Regions from separate parts of the Homo sapiens genome. Here region 1 is linked to region 2. The links are contacts of gene promoters, found by promoter capture Hi-C in human tissues and cell types (Jung and others, 2019). All regions are on one chromosome and are shown on one strand. The core of a region is centred on a gene start or on the middle of the fragment in contact, and the rest is flanking DNA. Distances in the headings are between cores, read along the strand shown.

Evidence for each region. The method cuts DNA at HindIII sites, captures the fragments that hold promoters and counts their contacts. A contact is called where the count stands out against the background at its distance.
Region 1: a fragment that was not itself captured here is called in contact with the fragment with the promoter of GPR139 in region 2 in 2 of the 25 tissues and cell types used here (H1 embryonic stem cells and aorta).

What each region holds. Positions count from the first base shown.
Region 1 is chr16:19,958,523-19,962,028 of GRCh38, reverse strand. No RefSeq gene overlaps it. Among named protein-coding and RNA genes, the nearest start is that of GPRC5B, 75 kb to the right of the region's middle. The HindIII fragment of the contact is 5,795 bases long and covers 1-3,506 here.
Region 2 is chr16:20,072,054-20,075,370 of GRCh38, reverse strand. GPR139 (G protein-coupled receptor 139) reads left to right here and starts at 1,481. Exons shown (of 2, transcript NM_001002911.4): 1 at 1,481-1,881. The coding sequence starts at 1,755. The HindIII fragment of the contact is 2,569 bases long and covers 1-2,386 here.

The DNA of each region.
Region 1 (3,506 bases), core at 27-2,526, 110 kb after region 2:
TTACAGTTCTGGAGGCTGTGAAGTCCAAGGTCAAGGGGGGTGCACCTGGTGAGGGCCTTCTTGCTGGTAGGGACTCTCTGCAGAGTTCTGAGGAAGGCACCACATTGGAAGGGGGCTGAGTATGCTAGCTCAGGTGTCTCTTCTCTTATAAAGTTAGCAATGCCACTCCCATAATAACCCATTAATTCATTAACCCATCAATCCATAAATGGATTAATCTATTCATGAGGGCAGAGCATCCATGGTCCAATCACCTCTTAAAGGCTCCACTTTTCAATACTGCCATATTGGGGATTTAAGTTTCAACATAAGTTTTGGAGGGGATAAACATTCAAACCATAGTACCTTCCCTTGAACCTGAGCAGAGCTTTATGACTGCCTCCATCAGTAGAGGACGGTGGAAGAGATACTATCTGACTTCCAAAGTTATATCATTTTAAAGCTATGCATTTCTATCCTCCTCTCTTGGGATACTTGCTCTTAGAACCCAAATCCCATGCTGCAGAAAAGTCCAAGTAGCCATGGAGAGACTTGTGGAGAGGACTGAGATCCCTGGCCATAGCCCCAGCTGAGTTTCCCAACAGCCAGCACCAACTTACCAGCCATATGAATGAGCCATCCTGAAAACAAATCTCCGAACCACCTGCCAACCCCCACCCCATCAAGCCATCCCAGCTGATGTCACTGGAGCAGAGAAGGCCCTGCCCAAATTGCAGAACAGTGAGCAAAATAAATAAGAATTGTTGTTTTAAGCCACTAAGTTTTGGGGTAGTTTTCACGCAGCAATAAATAACTGATTCCATACTTATCCACACCTAATTCTCGTGTATCTCCTTGCTTCTGTCTCTTCCCAGGGAGATGTTATCATTTCTGTAGTGATAAAATTGCCTCTTCATCTTCTCTTTCCAAGTTTTTTATTATGATATAAACCATGCACCCTAAGCTCTTTAGGACTTAAGCTTTTGAAACCATTTTTAAAAACTGGCTTTTATAAAGCAAAATCCTTGGTTTTCAAAATTATTGTCAGGTGCCAAGCATTTCAAAAACCTGTTTTGAAACTCAAAAGCTGAGCGTTGGCTTTTTTTTTTTTTTTCTTCTTCCTCTATGCATTCCTGCCATAACAGCCATCCCTGGATGGTGATGAGTATGGAATACCACAGTCTCAGGTGGGAGGGAGAATGATATACGAAATTTCCAGAAGTGGTGGGATGCACTGGGTAATATAACACTATCATGCTATTTTTACCCAAGCAGATACAAATCTCCAGTGTGCAAGGTTATCCTGTTCCTTTATTTTCTTTAAATCAACTTCAATCCAACTCTGGGCAGCCATCCACTGTCCTGGTGGAAAACGAGACTTCAGTGATAATTAGAACACCTTTTCTGAGCACCATCCCCTACCCACAAGGGGTGAACAAAAGTTCTCAGGTCTTAGCCCTATCCTTTCAAGGCAATACTCATAGGCTTTGCCCCATGTAGTCTCTGCTGAAATACACGTTGTTCAAGACAGTCAGCAAAGTTTTTGTGTAAAGGGTTAGATAGTCAATATTTTCAACTTTGCTGGCCATACAGTCTCTGCTGCAACTACTCAGTTCTGCTGAGTATTGCAAAAGCAGCCACGGGCAAATCCATAAATAAATGGTCTTGTCTGCGTTGCAATAAAACTTTATTTACACAAACAAGTGGCAGCCATAGTTTGCTGACTCTAAGCCCACACAAGTCCCTTGAACTCCTGTGTTTCTCTGATTATGCCCCCAGGGAGAGCCATCAAGATATTTTCTTTTGAAACAGTATCTGTCACTCGGGCTGGAGTGCAATGGTGGGATCACGGGATATCCAATGAGGCTTCATTGGAGCTTATGCTCCGACATAAGGGAGGCAGTGCAAGAGAGAGAGGGAATTCCTTAAACCGATTCCCCAAAAAGAGTGGGTAGGGCTTTTTTATTAGGCAAAACATGGGAATTGACATCGGGGGAGGGTATGCAGGCTGTACTGGGCAAGGCATGTGAAGAGTAGGGTATGCAGTTCAGTATCTCAGGTTGCAATGGCTGTTTGGAGTCGTGGTCACCTGGTGGTCTGGCCAGCAGCAACAAGTCTATAAATCGATTGTTCAGCATTCCTTCCCAAGGGGGAATGCTGCAACCTTGGTTATCTCCTAGAGCCAGTTCCTGGAATTTTTAGCATTGAGGTACTGGTGTGGGTTTGTGATCAGTGAGAATGCATGAAAGAATGCTCTAGAGCATGTGAGCTGAACCAACCCCATCTCCACTGTGTCTTATTCCCCGCTGAGAGAATTTATTCTCCCTCTTCTTAAGGAGAAAGGGCAATGGTTTCATCTTTTGGAGCTACTTCCTGCTGGCCAGGGTCATTGTTTATCCCTAATTTATGAAGTCATAAAAACGTCTTGATTTAGTGTTTCATAGGAGCTTGGCTCCTCCTGGGATGGTAGGGGTTGGAATCCTTGCACCACTATCAGTTTGACATGAACTGTTGAAGCCTGGAAGACAAACTTTAACCATCTGCACCGCCGTTGAATGTAACAGATAATTATTTTAAAAATCAAATAGCACACAGTAATAATTAATAAAATGCTTAAGCTCAGTTTAACAATGCTTATAAGAAGGGATTGAACACCATTTGAAATTTAAGTTGGTAGGCTGGAAAACCAGTCTCCTGTTGTCTGAAATATAAAGCAAACAGACTTTTAATAGAGGCATTTCTATGGAAACAGAAGAAAAACAAGCATTAATGGTGGGCATAATCTATCCAGATGTTAGATTCAAAGCATCTTTAGTTACAGAGAAAGGCAGTGGCAATCTGACATGTTCTCACCTGTATCATAAAGAATAAGCTTTAGCTTGCAGGGAATCAGGAAAAAGACAGTAGAAATCCTGTTAAGTTAGGAAAATGGAAGAAAAATTTGAAAACATTAGTTTGGAGACTTGTAGCCCAGAAAGGACTTAAGATTCAATCCAAATAGCAGCAAATAATTTTTCAACTCAAAAACAATGAACAAAAACAATGAACAAGAACAGAATCTAACAGCAGGTATATTATAAGCTTTCTCTATCCAGTCTTTCATTTTTATCAGTGGCAAATCACAGCAGGACCAATTTGCAAAACAAGTTTTGATCTTATTATACTTGGCCTGATTATTTGCATAAGGTACAACAAAAATAATTATTTCCCATACAGACCGTCTTCTAAATTGGCTTTCCTAGAACTTTTTCCATAAGGAATATCAGATTTGACACTTTTTAAAGCCTCGAGCCCAGTCACATATTTATCTGTGCCTGCAAATACTTATATGAGTTGGGTGAATTCCTCTCTTCTGGAGGTCCCAAGATAAACGGGGGCTTCTGGGCCCGTTAGAAAGTGATGTTCTTGCCTGGCATGGTGGCTCACCCCTGTAATCCCAGCACTTTGGGAGGCCGAGGCGGGCAAATCACCTGAGGTTAGGAGTTTGAGACCAGCCTGGCCAACATGGTGAAACGTCGTCTCTACTA
Region 2 (3,317 bases), core at 232-2,731:
CTGCCTGACTCTGTATGCTTTGGAGATTTCCACTCTGCCCTAGAGTGTCCCCCATCCCTGCCTGGGGTAACCTCTAACAAAGACAAGAACTGGATACATGCTCTTTGCTGGTCTTGAGGGACAGGGGTCTGCTCCACGTTGGGAGACCTGGAAGAGGCTGGGGAAAGCTTAGCCAGTTCCTTCTCTCCAGGAATGGATGTGATATAGGGGTGAGGGGCGTTGGGAAGCAGCGGGAGTGGGGGGTTTGAGGGCGGGGGGTCTTAGGCTTCTCAGACCCATCACAGCTCTTTGCATAGGCAGCTGCTACAGTCTGCTCCTGGGGATGCCTGGCCTGGGTGTTCCTGCAGAATCTTTAACTCTCTCACACTCACTGTCTTGAGCCCCAGACAGACACTATGTCCCTCTCTCTCTCTCTCTCTCTCTCCTCTCTCTCCTCTCTCTCTCTCTCTCTCTCTTTCTCTCCTCTCTTTCTCCTCAAGTCTGTGGTGGCCACACCCGGAACCCTCCACCTGCCTGCCCTGAGGAGAAAGGACCACCCACCCACACATTGCTTGGATCCCACCTGCCTTACAAATGCTACCCTTCACACAACCTTCAAGCACTCTCGACAAGCCCCCATGACTCCCGCGTGCGTTTTCGTATGTTTGGAGCGCCCTGTGAGTGTGGTCTTGTGCATGGTGATGAGGATGCCTGCGTGTTTTCAAGGGTCTGGGTGTGGGATGGGAGAGCATCCGCGTGCCTGAGTGAGCGTGTGAGTACACCGCATGCCTGGGTATTGTGTGTCTTTGTGTGAGCGTGGGCGAGTGCGTGTTTGAGTGTCTGCAACATCCTTATTCCTGACTGAAGGGCGGCATGCAGGAGGGGCTTCTCTTAGCCAGTCTGTATCCTCTTCAAACGCACTCCAGTTAGGGGACAGTTCACCGGCGGCCACCCCCAGAGTCGCCACACACACGCACAGGGAGGCACGCACCCCTCTTTCCAGAGCCAGCAAGCTCAGCTTCCCTTGTCGAGGAAAACCGACAACGCTTTAGCATCCTCGCTGCTCCAACAGCCCCACCCCTTCCCCCGTTCTTTGCCCTAGGTATAGAATCCTCTATCCGGAGATGGACTGGAAGCATTGGAGAGGGGCAAGAGAGGTGGCTGCGAGGAGAGTGGAGAAAGGCAAACTGAGGACACGCTGGAGGAGTGAGGAGCCGCTGCGGGAGAGGCAGATCCTACCCACACCACGCCCCTCCCTCGGGGTTGGAGATTGGGGATAGCCTGTTTTCCACTCCGGTCTTCCTTCGGGGCTCCCAGGTCTAACTGCATCTTCTCCCCTGAAAGTGGAGCCAAGCGAGGCGGCTGGGACCCCCTCCTCTTCCGCATCCCTCCCACCCCACACACACTCCGCTTCCAGGCAGCCGCTGATTGGCTGCGGGGAGCGGCGTCCCAGCCCCCCGGCTTTGAGGCGGGAGTGGAGCGGGTCCGAGGTGGGAGGCGCACAGACGGGCTCCGGGAGCCCCTCCCGAGGCCCCGCGCAGCGCGCCCCGCACCCTGCGCCCCGCGCCCTGCGGGAGGGCTGAGCCAAGACTCCAGGCGGGCAGGTGCGGAGCGAGCAGAGGGGATCACGGCCAAGGGTAGGAGCCAGTCCTGCGGGGAGAGAGGCGCTGCTGCTCCAGCTGCCGCTGCCTCCGCCGCCGCCACCACCGAGCCGGCGACCAGAGTCGGGCTGGCAGGCCGGGCGCGAAGCGGCAAGGGGAGCGAGGGGCGCGCTCATGGAGCACACGCACGCCCACCTCGCAGCCAACAGCTCGCTGTCTTGGTGGTCCCCCGGCTCGGCCTGCGGCTTGGGTTTCGTGCCCGTGGTCTACTACAGCCTCTTGCTGTGCCTCGGTTTACCAGGTGAGGGGCGTGGGGGAGAGGGAGGGAAGCCAGGAACCCCAAGTGCCGGGCAACCCTACCCAGAATCCCCCGTCCTCCCCCGTGCGTTCCCTGGCGCCCCCTCGGAAAAAGTTTAAGCTTTAAGGGCAACTATGGATATTTCCACACGGGGGGAAAGGAAGTTGCTGTGCCCTAGCTGGGGACCGTGTGTGTGTGTGTGCGCGCGCGAGCGTGTGTGTGTGTGTGTGTGTGTGTGTGATGACTGTGACGGCGGGCGATGGGCTGGGCATGTGAGCATGGATTCGAAGGTGCATTTGTGCGCGCATCTGGAGGGGGCGGCTTTCATGGGGTGGGGGCGTAGAGGGCTTTGTGTGTGTTTGGCTTGACTGCATGTTCTGGACAGAAGGCTTCGTGGAGGCTTCCCTTCTCCCGTGGCCCCTGCACGTCCACCCCACTTGGGGCACCTCTGCCCCTCTGCGTGTCCCCGCCTGACACGAGATGAAGCTGGAGACCCTGACATTGAGCACTCTCTTGCTCGGGGGGCACTGGAATGGAGAAAGAATGCCTAGCAAGAAAAGGGTCTCCCAGCTGGCTAAGGAGAATCAGGGGTTGGCTCTGGGACCATGCCCTGGCCAGGGCAAGGGTGCAGAGACACACAGGGCAGCCTGCGGTGGCTGCCACCTCAGGGGGTCACAGTCTCCTTGAGGACATGCCTGGCCCCCTGGCTTGGCCTCCAGGTCTACCCACCCTGGGCAGCTCACGGCTGCTGTGGATGTCTGGCTGGTCCCACATCTTAATGTCCTTTCCAAAGTGTGGCTGAGACTTGTCCTGAATTCCTGAAGAGAGCTGAGCTGCCGAGAAGGAGGGAGTGCTTGCCTGGGCCGTGTGCGAGAGAGAGCGAGAGAGAGAGAAAGCTTTTTTCCTGGGGCTCCAGCTTTGGGTGGACCCTCCTTGCAGGCAGTCTTGGTGACAAATAGATCCCTAAAGATTACTTGCATGCAGAGAGGAGAGAGGGACTGAAAGAAGCAGAGAGAAAGAGAGAAAAAAAATCCAGTGTACAGCCTGAAATCTTAGCATCATCTCCCTAGTCATCTCTTAGTCTGCGAACCTTAGCATCTTGCGATCCTGGGAACTTGGGAGCTGGATTTCTGAGAGCCTGGCTGAGATTTCCTTTCCCAAACATTCAACTTGGCAGTCAGGGCCCCTGATGAGATTGTTTCAATAAATCCCCCCTCCCAAATTTGGCAGGCATGAGAAAGCGCAAGTTTACTAATGTGTGAGCCTCTCTCCCCAAGCCAGTGATGAGGCTTTTATTCCTAACTAATCGCCACGGCTGCCCTAGGAGAGCAGCTCAGCCTCTGACTTGCCCTGCCGGGGTGGTAGCACATGTCCTGTAATTACCTTGAGCTGGGATTGATTTTAGTCCAGGTTCCACCTCCCCCCTTCAGCCCTTCGGA